4 separate regions of the Homo sapiens genome follow, and all the other regions are linked to region 3. Evidence: promoter capture Hi-C in 16 types of primary human blood cells and fetal thymus (Javierre and others, 2016). All regions are on one chromosome and are shown on one strand. The core of a region is centred on a gene start or on the middle of the fragment in contact, and the rest is flanking DNA. Distances in the headings are between cores, read along the strand shown. Region 1 overlaps RNGTT (RNA guanylyltransferase and 5'-phosphatase). Region 2 has its middle 9.7 kb from the start of PNRC1. Region 3 holds the start of MAP3K7 (mitogen-activated protein kinase kinase kinase 7). Region 4 overlaps RRAGD (Ras related GTP binding D).

Region 1 (2,700 bases), core at 114-2,613, 1.6 Mb before region 3:
TCTAAAAGGAAAACTACAAAACACTACTGAAATAAATCACAGATGACACAAACAAATGGAAACACATCCCATGCTCATAGATGGGTATAATCAATACTATGAAAATGATCATACTGCCAAAAGCAATCTTTAGATTCAATGCAATTCCCATCAAAGTACCATCATCATTCTTCACAGAACCAGAAAAAGCAATCCTAAAATTCATTGAACCAAAAAAGAGCCCAAATAGCCAAGGTAAGCAAACAAAAAAGAACAAATGTAAAGGCATCACATTACCCAACTTCAAATTATACTACAAGACTATAGTAACCAAAACAGCATAGTACTGGTATAAAAATAGGCACACAGACCCATGGAACAGAATAGAGAACCCAGAAAGAAAGCCAAACACTTACAGCCAACTGATCTTTGACAAAGCAAACAAAAGCATAAAGTGGGGAAAGGACACCCTATTCAACAAATGGTCCTGGGATAACTAACAAGCTACGCGTAGAAGAATGAAACTCATCTCTCACCTTATACAAAGTCAACTGGAGATGGATCAACTCAAACTTAAGTAAGATCTGAAACCATAAAAATTCTAGAAGATAACATTGGAAAAAACTCTTCTAGACATTGACTTAGGCAGAGTTCGTGACCAAGAACCCAAAAGCAAATGCAACAAAAACAAAAATAAATAGATGGAACCTAATTAAACTAAAAAGCTTCTGCACAGCAAAAGAAATAATCAGCAGAGTAAACAGACAACCCACAGAGTGGGAGAAAATCTTCGCAAACTATGCATCTGACAAAGAACTAATATCCAGAATCTACAAGGAACTGAAACAAATGAGCAAGAAAAAAACAAATAATCCCATCAAAAAGTGGACAAAGGACATGAACAGACAAAAGAAGATATACAGTTGGCCAAGAAGCATATGAAAAATGTTCAACATCACTATCAAGGAAATGCAAATTAAAACTACAATGAGATACCACCTTACTCCTGCAAGAATGGCCATAATTAAAATATCAAAAAATATTAGATGTTGGCATGAATGTGGGGAAAAGGTAACACTTTTACACTGCTGGTGGGAATGTAAATTATTACAACCACTAGGGAAAACAGTATGGTGATTCCTTGAAGAACTAGAAGAACTACCATTTGATCCAGCAATCCCACTACTGGGTATCTACCCAGAAGAAAATAAGTCATTATCTGAAAAAGCCACTTGCACAGGCATGTTTACAGCAGCACAATTTGCAATTGCAAAAATGTGGAACCAGCTTAAATGCCCAAGAACCAATGAGTGGATAAAGAAAATGTGATATGTATATATACCATGGAATACTACTCAGCCATAAAAAGGAATGAAATAATGGCATTCATGGCAACCTAGATGGAGTTGGACCCCATCATTCTAAGTGAAGTAACTCAGGAATGGAAACCCAAATATCCTGTGTTCTCACTTGTAAGTGGGAGCTAAGCTATGAGAATGCAAAGACATAACAATGATATAATGGACTTTGGGTACTCAGGGGGAAGTGTGGAGAGGGGGGATGAGGGATAAAAGACTACTACAGTGTACACTCCTTGAGTGACAGGTGCACCAAAATCTCAGAAATCATCACTGAAGTACTTATCCATGTAACCAAAAACCACCTGTCCCCCAAAAACTACTGAAATAACATAAAAATGTTTTTTAAAAAGATCTTTACTAAAGATCTCTATTTGAGCAATCAGGATCTTAATATCTCCTCCAACCTGCTTCTCTCTCAGTAAGCCCTAATAATATCAACTATCTCATGTGCATAAGCCAGACATTTGAGACTAAATTTTGACCCTCTTTCCCTCATTCTAAATACGACATCAAGTTCTGTCCATTTTCCCTTCTTAATATCTCTCAAATTAGCCTTCTACTCTTCATCTGTCACTTTTAAACTATCACTATTGTCTTTCACCTGGACTACAACAAGTTCCTAATTAGTCTCTCCATTTCCACTCTTTTCTCCATCAATTCATTAAACACAGAAAAGTCAAAGTAAGCTTTTAACTTGGATTCAAATAATCTCATCTCGATGCTGAAAAAAAAAACTGCAATTGTATGCCACTGAAAATTTAAAGCATATAAATATTAGGATACCTTATCACACCCTACTTGCCTGTATGATCAGGCTATTCTCCAACCTCTTAACCTCACTTACATCTTCCAGAACAAAGACACTTTTTCAGTCTATTATCTCTCCCATCATCATCCTATCCTAACAGAAACTTTCAATAACACCCCCTGCCAACTATTTATCTAGAAAACTTCTATTTACTGAAGATAATTCATGTATGACCTTCTCTGGGAAGTCTCACCTGATCTCCTTCTTCCTTCCCATCTCTTCTTCCTCAACCTCAAAGAATTAGGTTTATTACCTCTGATTCCCATCATATACCACAATAGAGTCATTGCTACATTTTTTACAACAGAACTGTGCTTAAAATGGATGGTTTGCTACTCCCATGAGACTCTGCTTTTTAAGGGTAATATATCTTAGCCATCTCCCTAGCACCCAGGACTAGCACAAAGTAGACATTTAAATATTTGCTAAATAAAATGACTTCAAAATCACCATCACTATCACCATCACACTATCCTGAGTACCTGGGACCACAAGTATGTGCCAATGCACCTGGCTGTGTCTCATATTTACATTCCCACAGTTCCTAGTAAG
Region 2 (3,006 bases), core at 25-2,524, 1.5 Mb before region 3:
GTGGTGCAATCTTGGCTCACTGCAACCTCCACCTCCTGGGTTCAAGTGATTCTGCCTCAGCTTCCCAAGTAGCTGGGACTACAGGTGCACGCCGCCCTGTTTGGCTAACTTTGATAGTTTTAGTAAACACAGGGTTTCGCCATGTTGGCCAGGCTGGTCTCGAACTCCTGGCCTCAAGTGATCTGCCTGTCTCAGCCTCCCAAGGTGCTGGGATTACAGGCATAAGCCACCCCACTGGGCCTTTTCTATTTGAGACAGGGTTTTGCTCTGTCATGCAGGTTGGAGTGCAATGAGTGGTGCGATCACAGTTCATTGCAACCTCTGCCTCCTGGTTTCAAGTGATGTTCCCACCTCAGCCTCCTGAGTAGTTGGGACTACAGGGACGTGGACATGTGGTTTCACTGTGTTGTCCAGGCTGGTCTCAAACTCCTGAGCTCAAGTGATCCACTGGCCTCGGCCTCGCAAAGTGTTGGTATTACAGGAGTGAGCCACCAAGCCCAGCCGAAAACGTTTTCCCTTTTTGTTTTCAGGGTTTTTAAGTGATTTCTTCCTTTTTGTAGCCATTTTGATGATTTTTGGTTATTTCCAATTGCAAATGTTTGATTTAAATTGAACTCACAATTGCCTACTAACAGTAAGATTTTTAAATACAAGATCTTTATTATTTCACTTTACTTGACAACATGGAATCAGAGGGCTTTTTGGTCCCATCAAACCTTTGGATAAGTTACAATTTGAGGGGATTTTCTAACTATAAAACAAGGGCTTTCAACAATCCCTTCCAAAGTTGAGCAAAATTAACCTTACTCTTCAAATGACTAGGCATTTAATGCTCTCAAATTTTAGAAAGGATTACTATCAAAGACTGGAAATGTCCCTTTTCTACCAGACTTTCAAGGCTCTTAGAGTCACTGTTCATTCAGTCCAGTCTCCTTAACCATCCAGGTCTATTTCTTAAGTTCCTGTAATCATGTGATGCCTGAGACCAGATCCTGAATTTCAAAAATAAGAAAACAGAATTGTTTATGAAAGGTATTCAACCAAGGTTTTCTGGCTGTACTTTAGCTAATTAGAATACCTCATGTATGAATATTCCAGGTTTTTTTTGAAATACTTTGTTAAATTCAAAATACTTGGGGGATAGATGGAAATATATGTGGCAAAGCAGGTGTAATTAACTGCTAACTGTAGAATCTAGGTAGTGGGTATATGGATGTTCCACTTTAAAATTCAGCTACATTTAACATTTTTTTATACTGAAGATTTTTATAATAAAGTGTTAAAGAAAATAGAGTTAGGGAAAATTAAGGCTGCTTTACTGGTTCACTCCAACATTATATATAATTTGAATATTTGCTTTTTTTTTTTTTTTTTTACTAATAATTCTAAAAGCTCACTTATATGTAGCATACAGCACAAATAAGCTGATCTTATGAGGTTGTAAACTTTGAACCTTCTGAATGTTTTCCTCTGCATTTTCAAGTAGGTTGGCTAGTTGGTTATAACATCTAAAAAAACAGAACTCTAGTTAATGACAGAAACACCAAGGCCATTGTAAATAAGAGCTGAAAGATTAGAGAAACAATAACATATTTAAGCACTGGCTTATTTAGGAAATGTGACAGATAACATTTAATGTTAATGTTATCTGTTATGTTAATGTTAACATTAACATAAATGTTAATACTTGAAGAATAATTAGAGAAGGATAAAGAGGTAAATTGGGATTATAAAGATTCTGAAAAGGGCTTGGTTTGGTGCTCACGCCTGTAATCCCAGCACTTTGGGAGGCCGAGGCAGTAGGATCACTTGAGGCCAGGCATTTGAGACCTGGCAACGTAGTGAGACTATTTCTACAAAGATTCTGAAAGGGATTTATAACTGTCCGTGGTTTGAGAAGAGAGTTAAAGAAATGAAAGTGGAATAACAAACTGCAAGCAGCAAAAGGAAATGTGTTTATGAAGAATGTCGCCAGGTACGGTGGCGCGTGCCTGTAGTCCCAACTACTTGGGAAGCTGCGGCAGGAGGATGGCTTGAGTCCAAGAGTTCTGGGCTGTACTGTGCTATGCCAGTTGGGGGTCCACACTAAGTTCAGCATCAGTATGGTGACCTCCCAGGAAGGGGGACCACCAGATTTACTAATGAGGGGTGAACTGGCCCAGATTGGAAACAAGCAGGTCAAAACTCCTGCGCTGATCAGTAGTGGGATCATGCCTGCGAATAGCCACTGCACTCCAGTCTGGGCAACATAACAAGACCCTGTCTCTTAAAAAAGAAAAAAAAAAAAGATGCATGTCCCCAGAAAAGAAAGGGGCTGACTGAGGGCTACTTAGCACTGAAGTGACTAGGGAGTAGAGTGTAAGGCAGTGTGCAACTCTTAACATTTCACTGTTTCCTGCCTTTTAAAGCCTTTAATGCTGAGTTAACACCAGTGGAGTAAATGAGATGCTAAAAGCATTGTATGAAATTATTCCTTAAGTGATGTAGTTCCACTTTCTATGATAGACACTGAAACTACAATCTTTTGGTCAAAATAAAGGGTGGACAAGGTGTGGTCACAAAAGCCCAAATGAGTATCAGTTACATTTGACCACTGATAGGCAGCTCAGAGCTTTGTATATAAAGGACTATTTGTACTTTAGAATATAAAATTTTCATCCATGTTTTTAAGAAGATTATAATGGAGCATATATAGAAACCTGATACATGGCACTTAATGTGGTACTGCAGATCAAGTCCCAGAAACATCGCCATTACTGGTATTCAGTAATGGTGCTGGGACATTTGAATTTCTATATGAAAAAATATATGTAAATAAAAATATACATACCATTCTAGATTTGTGTAAGTACACTCTATGTTTGCACAACAGAATCGCCTAACAATGTGTTTCTCAGAATGTATCCTGTCATTAAATGATCTATGACTATATCCATTAAAAACTGTAATGGGCCGGGCACGGTGGCTCACGCCTGTAATCCCAGCACTTTGGGAGGCCGAGGCGGG
Region 3 (2,749 bases), core at 9-2,508:
TATGCTACTTGAAACATCTTTTGATCGTAGACCAGTCTATGTTACTTATGGTGAAATTCACCTACATTAGCCCAACTGAAAGCCGAGCATTTAAACATTACGAGTATTGCTGTGCGGTATCGGAGAAATTGAGAACCATTCGGTGCTAAGGGAAACACTTTATTAGACTTGATGATCTACTAATTTAACAAGCATTTATTGAGCATCCCCTACATGCCAGGTACTGAAGTAGAAGTCGAATATAATACAATCTTTGGCCATTAAGAACATTACGTCCGGCCGGGCCCGGTGGCTCACGCCTGTAATCCCAGCACTTTGGGAGGCCGAGGCGGGTGGATCATGAGGTCAGGAGATCGAGACCATCCTGGCTAACAAGGTGAAACCCCGTCTCTACTAAAAATACAAAAAATTAGCCAGGCGCGGTGGCGGGCGCCTGTAGTCCCAGCTACTCGGGAGGCTGAGGCAGGAGAATGGCGTGAACCCGGGAAGCGGAGCTTGCAGTGAGCCGAGATTGCGCCACTGCAGTCCGCAGTCCGGCCTGGGCGACAGAGCGAGACTCCGTCTCAAAAAAAAAAAAAAAAAAAAAAGAACATTACGTCCAGCGGACTGAAACTCCAGAACGGCTACGATCTTCGCTGAAACTACTACTTACAGATACGAGAACTGGTGGACCACACTATCTCACCAGTTCATTCTCCTGTTTATCACCGGAATATCAAATCCAAAATCAAGAGTACCCAAGAGAGGAAAAAAGGCAGCTACTCCCGAGCAGTTGAGCTCAGAGAGTAACCCCCACTCCCACGTTACTGAGGGCTGTGGGGTCTCCCGGGTGGACCCCGCAGGGTCCCGCGAATTAGAGGGGCCCCGGGAGGCACCTTCAGAGCCGGCACCAGGCAGAGGCGGGGGCGGGGCAGGCCGGGACCGGCGTCTCCATGCCGGGCCTCGCTCACCTCTTCCACCTCGATCTCCTTGTAGTCGATCTCTTCAAAGTTGAGGACCTGGGAAGGGGCTTCGATCATCTCACCGGCCGAAGACGAGGAGGAGGAGGAGGCGGCAGAGGCTGTAGACATGATCCCTCGCGGCGCCCGGTGGGGCCGGGAACGGTGCCACCCGGACAATCCGGGTGAGACCCGCGCCCACCCGCCTCCGGACCGACCCTCAGCCTGGAGCCGCGCAGTCCTACTACCCGGCGATCCGTGGCGGGGGTAGAGGCAGCGGCCACAGCCGTGTCCGGCTCTGGCTCCGCTGCGTTTTCCGCCGACGGGCCCCGCCCACTACACTTCCGGTTCCGGGCTGAAATCGGAAACAGGAGGAGGGCCGTAAACTCCGGGGTAGGGGAGGGGAGAATTTTGTGACTTGGAAAGAAAAGGAGGGACAGGTTGGGGGTGGGGTGGAGTAAGCTAAGAAGCAAACTTGGACCTCTAGAACAAATTTCGCGAGACCTTTATTACAGGGCCTCAGCAACCGGATGATACCGCGAGAGAGGACGCCTGACGTAATTAAAGTGCGCGAACGGAAGTGGCGCGGAACATGACGGAAAATCAGTACGGTTGGTCCCTTAAGGACCAGCGGGAAAGATAAAAGCTGGGGTTTAGTCTGTGCTGCGTGAAATATGTCTTGGCCTCACTTCCTGTCCTCTGAGCTGCCTGCAGCCGGGCGAGGTGGTGTTGAACTGTGTTTTTTGTGACGAAGCTTACTTTTAAGTTTCATCCCTAAACTAAGTTGACCTGTTTCTTTAAGACGGCTTGCAAAATGTGTTTTCCTCAATGTGGGATATGGAAAGAAGCAGTTGCTCCTGTTATTTTGAGCTAGTACCTGACGCTATGAGAAATTCTAAAAGAGCGAATCAGATCATGCAACATGAATAACTATGGAGGCTGAGTGATCAAGAACAGAAGTTAATATTTTGGTGTTACAAACTTTCCACGGATTAGGTGAATAAGATATTTATAATTTGGTGTGTTCATCTCAAGTTATGGATTACGAGTGCGGGGCACTAGTGCTTTAGATTGGTAAATGAATCATCAACAGTCGCCTTGAAAATCGAATATTTTTGTCACCATTTTCAGGACATGAGAAAACACGCTGAGAGTTTAAAGCAATTATGGTCCTCACAAACTAGATCATTCTGTCCCCAAGATGGTCAGTATTGCTCATGTTGTACTACCAGCACAAGTTTTAGTTTTAAACTAACTGTTGAATTTTATATAGTCCGTTTGACATAAAGCCTAACTGTGGAATTATGTTAAACACATTTGGGATTGCAAATAGATCATTGGATTTGACCATCAAGAAGTTACAAACTCCTGGGAAACATTCTGTCACTTTTTATTCGTAGTTCTAGTGACACGCAGTGACAGTTTGATGAGTGGATAAAAAAATGAAAGAAACGATAATTTCTTTTCACTGTACACTCTCTCTTTGCATGCTCTTACCCAAGGTCTCTGTTTCTCATACTATTTTTATAATGATGACTCCTAATCTCCAAATACTCAAGATTTTTCCTGAATTCTGGACCTATTGGTCATCTCTACTTAGACAAACACCTAAACTTCAAGATACCACAGCAAATTCAAAAGTTGTCACCCACCACAAATATATTCCTATGTTATTTTCCTATGTCACTTAAGGATGCCATCACCCAGTTGGTTGTCCAAGTGAGAAATCAGGGCATGTGAAATGATGCGTGGTGCACTGATACCCAGTAGAAGCTGATATAATCAGTGGGACAGTCATTTTCACCTGTCAT
Region 4 (3,046 bases), core at 117-2,616, 1.2 Mb before region 3:
CTAGCCAAACCCCCATCACACACCCTGCAAGGGGGACAAGCGAACTTTTCCCGTTTTACATTGGTAAAAATGTTCTGATTTACCAATGTGCCTGCAAAAAGGGAAAGGTATTCTTACAAACTTTTTAACAATCACTTTGAGAGTGCACTAAGGTTGGCTTTACGCAGTCCTCTATTTTATACACTGAGAAATGGAGCCGAAGTCTTTCTCAGAGGACCACAAGAGGAGAAGGTCGACCAGCAAGCACCCTGGACCCTGTAGCCCAGGAGTGAAGAAACTTTTTGTCTGCAGTGTCACAGCAGAACCAGGAAAGGCCATCACAAGAGAACTCTAAGGCTCTGGCACAGGAGGGAGAACAAAAAATATTTTTTTAAAAAATAAAAGGATACCAAAAGAATAAAGGAGGTAGAGAAGAAAGAAGGAAGAGGCCGGGCGCGGTGGCTCATGCCTGTAATCCCAGTACTTTGGGAGGCCAAGGCAGGTGGATCACTTGAGGTCAGGAGTTTAAGACCAGCCTGGTCAACATGGTGAAACCTCATCTCTACTAAAAATACAAAAATTAGCTGGGCATTGTGGTGGGCACCTGTAATCAATCCCACCTATTGGGGAGGCTGAGGCAGGAGAATCACCTGAACCCAGAAGGTGGAGGTTGCAGTGAGCCGAGATCATGCCACTGCACTCCAGCCTGGGCAACAGAGTGAGGCTCCATCTCAAAAGAAGGAAAGAAAGAAGAAAAATGAGCAGGAACGAAGTGTCTGTGCTAAAAGTGAAATTGATTGTCACCAGCATTTACTATGGGCTGGGGGAGGATTGAATAACACAGGGGGTGAACTTGGGGCAGACTCAGTTATCTTTGAAAGACAAAAGATGATCTCTCAAACCCAAAGTCATCGGCTCTTATCCAGAACTTGCTGTTTGTGCCTCCCGTTTCCATTAGACTACCCTCTATCTAGTATTAAAATGGAAGAGATCGCTAATAAAAGTAGAGAGTCAGTACTCTCTGATGCCCTGAATCACTGACACAGGTTTATAAAACATCTGATATAGAAAGATACTCTCTAAATACAGGCATTCGAACAAGTATTTACCTAAAGTTTAACTTTGGGCACATCATTTTAACCTATTATGTAGTTTCATCTGTTCCAACTCTTCTGTATTTCCAGGGCCAGAAGGAAATCTAAGAGATAAGCTGTGTCCAGGGCTGTAGTCAAGCCAGCTCTTTTTGGATAAGGCAGAATTACAAGAAAAGGGGCTTACATTTCCATATACTTGATCCTCTTCTAAATACTTCGCTCATTTCTAGCTCATGATAGGGCAGTAGAAAAGCCCCCTGGTATCTCTGAGCCATGATTTCAGTATCAGTATAACTGTTATCTCTACTTACTTCCAAGGAACAATGAAAAGGTGAATTCCCTAATATTTTTAAAATTATTTTAGGAAAAAGCCATGCACAGTCATGCATGCCTATAATCCTAGCTACTTGGGAGGCTGAAGCAGGAAGATTGCTTGAGCCCACAAGTCCGAGACCAGCCTAGGCAATATAGAGAGACCCAGTCCCTTCCCCACAAAAGGCTAACATTAATGAACTAATGATTAATACATATGAATTGCTGGATTCACCCCATCTACATCCTTCAGGAAGGAAGACCCTGGATCTTTCATGCCTCCAGAAACCACCTACACAGTCACTTCCTCAGACCCTAAGGGTGCGCACAGGCTGCTATGAAGGCAAAGACCGAACTTCACTGGACTGTGGGTGAGCAGCTTACGTTAGCCAAGTTTCTCCTAAAAAATGGGAGGGGTTTTGGGGGGAAAACAATTTTACTTTCTGATTAAATATGATCTTGTAATTGCTTTCCCTGTTATTACAGTTTTTAAAGCACAGTAATTTATCAAAAGATTTAAAGTCCATGAATCTAAAAATAATCATTATTTTTGGTGCAATTGTTTTTAACGGCCTAACCATTCCCTCCTCTCTGGTAGTTTTATCTGGAGTGTGGGGATTGAAGGTGAGACTCACCTTACCTGCAATTAACTACCATGAAAGGAAGGTTGAGAGGTGCCCAAATCTGCCCTAACAGAACTAATGTGCCTGAGAACACTTTTGCTATTCATGAATAAAATATGGAGTGGAAGCCAGAGAAGTGCAATTTAAGTCTCACCTTAGTTGCCCTATGTTTTCAAACTCAGTACAATGTGGTAAAATTTACAAGGCATACTCGGTTTAAAAATAAGACCAGAGGTTCCTTTATAAGTCCTACAGACTGAGGGAAATGAAAATTGCATTACATATCCACCTTTAGTCCACTTCTCTTGCACAGCTCCTGATAAATTGCTTTGCAACTTAACTGGCAATACTAGTTGGTCCCACATCCCACCCTCAGCCTCCCACCCACCAGGGTAGATTTCTGAACTTAGTGGAAAAAGTCCCACGTCTCCACTAAGTGCAGGCACTAAACCAAGCTATTAGGAAGGGGAAAGGGGAGTGGGGGTTCATTAGAGAAATGCTTTGCTAGTGGTTCAAAGTACATCTTTTCTCAGAATAACTCCTTTTTTTCCCTACATTCTATTTCTTAAGTTTGAGAGTAGGTAAATGTAAATTTTACCAAAAATAAAACAAGATTATAATGCAACACGTGAATCAGCCTTTTGAAGGGCACAGGAAGGGAAGTCACAACTCCCAACCTCCTCCTCCCAATCCCCACTCCCCAGACCATATCAGCTGGCCTGACAGCCATCAGGAGCAGTCCTCGCTGGAATTGCTGACTGAGGAGCCTATCTGACACTAGAGAGCAAATGTCCTGACAAGGGATTCTGCATCAAGGCCTAAACCCAAAAGTCAAAGCCAGGGAAATCTGGAAAGAACAGAGGCCAAAATATAACGGAGGAAGTCTGAGAAGCAGACCACCTATCCACTGCAGGCCCAGGTGGACAGAGACCAGGCTTAAGCAACGTTTGCCGAGCAAACATGTTGCTCTTCTCACAATATAAATATATTTAATCCTTTTATAGCAAGATCCCAAGCTGATCCCAAAAGCCCATTCAG

What was found. The method cuts DNA at HindIII sites, captures the fragments that hold promoters and counts their contacts. A CHiCAGO score of 5 or more calls a contact.
Region 1: a fragment that was not itself captured here is called in contact with the fragment with the promoter of MAP3K7 in region 3 in 7 of 17 cell types (non-activated CD4 T cells, fetal thymus, total CD4 T cells and 4 more); the score reaches 9.3 in non-activated CD4 T cells.
Region 2: a contact is called between a fragment that was not itself captured here and the fragment with the promoter of MAP3K7 in region 3, in 1 of 17 cell types (fetal thymus). The highest score is 5.9, in fetal thymus.
Region 4: a contact is called between a fragment that was not itself captured here and the fragment with the promoter of MAP3K7 in region 3, in 5 of 17 cell types (fetal thymus, activated CD4 T cells, total CD8 T cells and 2 more). The highest score is 7.7, in fetal thymus.

Annotation. Positions count from the first base shown.
Region 1 is chr6:88,957,688-88,960,387 of GRCh38, forward strand. All of the region lies in intron 1 of RNGTT (RNA guanylyltransferase and 5'-phosphatase), which reads right to left. Among named protein-coding and RNA genes, the nearest start is that of RNGTT, 4.6 kb to the right of the region's middle. The HindIII fragment of the contact is 1,322 bases long and covers 703-2,024 here.
Region 2 is chr6:89,088,976-89,091,981 of GRCh38, forward strand. It overlaps the pseudogene RN7SL336P. Among named protein-coding and RNA genes, the nearest start is that of PNRC1, 9.7 kb to the left of the region's middle. The HindIII fragment of the contact is 7,002 bases long and covers 1-3,006 here.
Region 3 is chr6:90,585,814-90,588,562 of GRCh38, forward strand. It overlaps MAP3K7 (mitogen-activated protein kinase kinase kinase 7), which reads right to left and starts at 1,259. Exons shown (of 17, transcript NM_145331.3): 1 at 951-1,259. The coding sequence starts at 1,070. LOC124901363 (a long non-coding RNA gene) reads left to right here and starts at 981. Exons shown (of 2, transcript XR_007059680.1): 1 at 981-2,142. RefSeq lists silencers at 1,079-1,198, 1,195-1,391. The HindIII fragment of the contact is 2,842 bases long and covers 1-1,690 here.
Region 4 is chr6:89,406,930-89,409,975 of GRCh38, forward strand. All of the region lies in intron 1 of RRAGD (Ras related GTP binding D), which reads right to left. Among named protein-coding and RNA genes, the nearest start is that of RRAGD, 3.8 kb to the right of the region's middle. The HindIII fragment of the contact is 4,923 bases long and covers 1-3,046 here.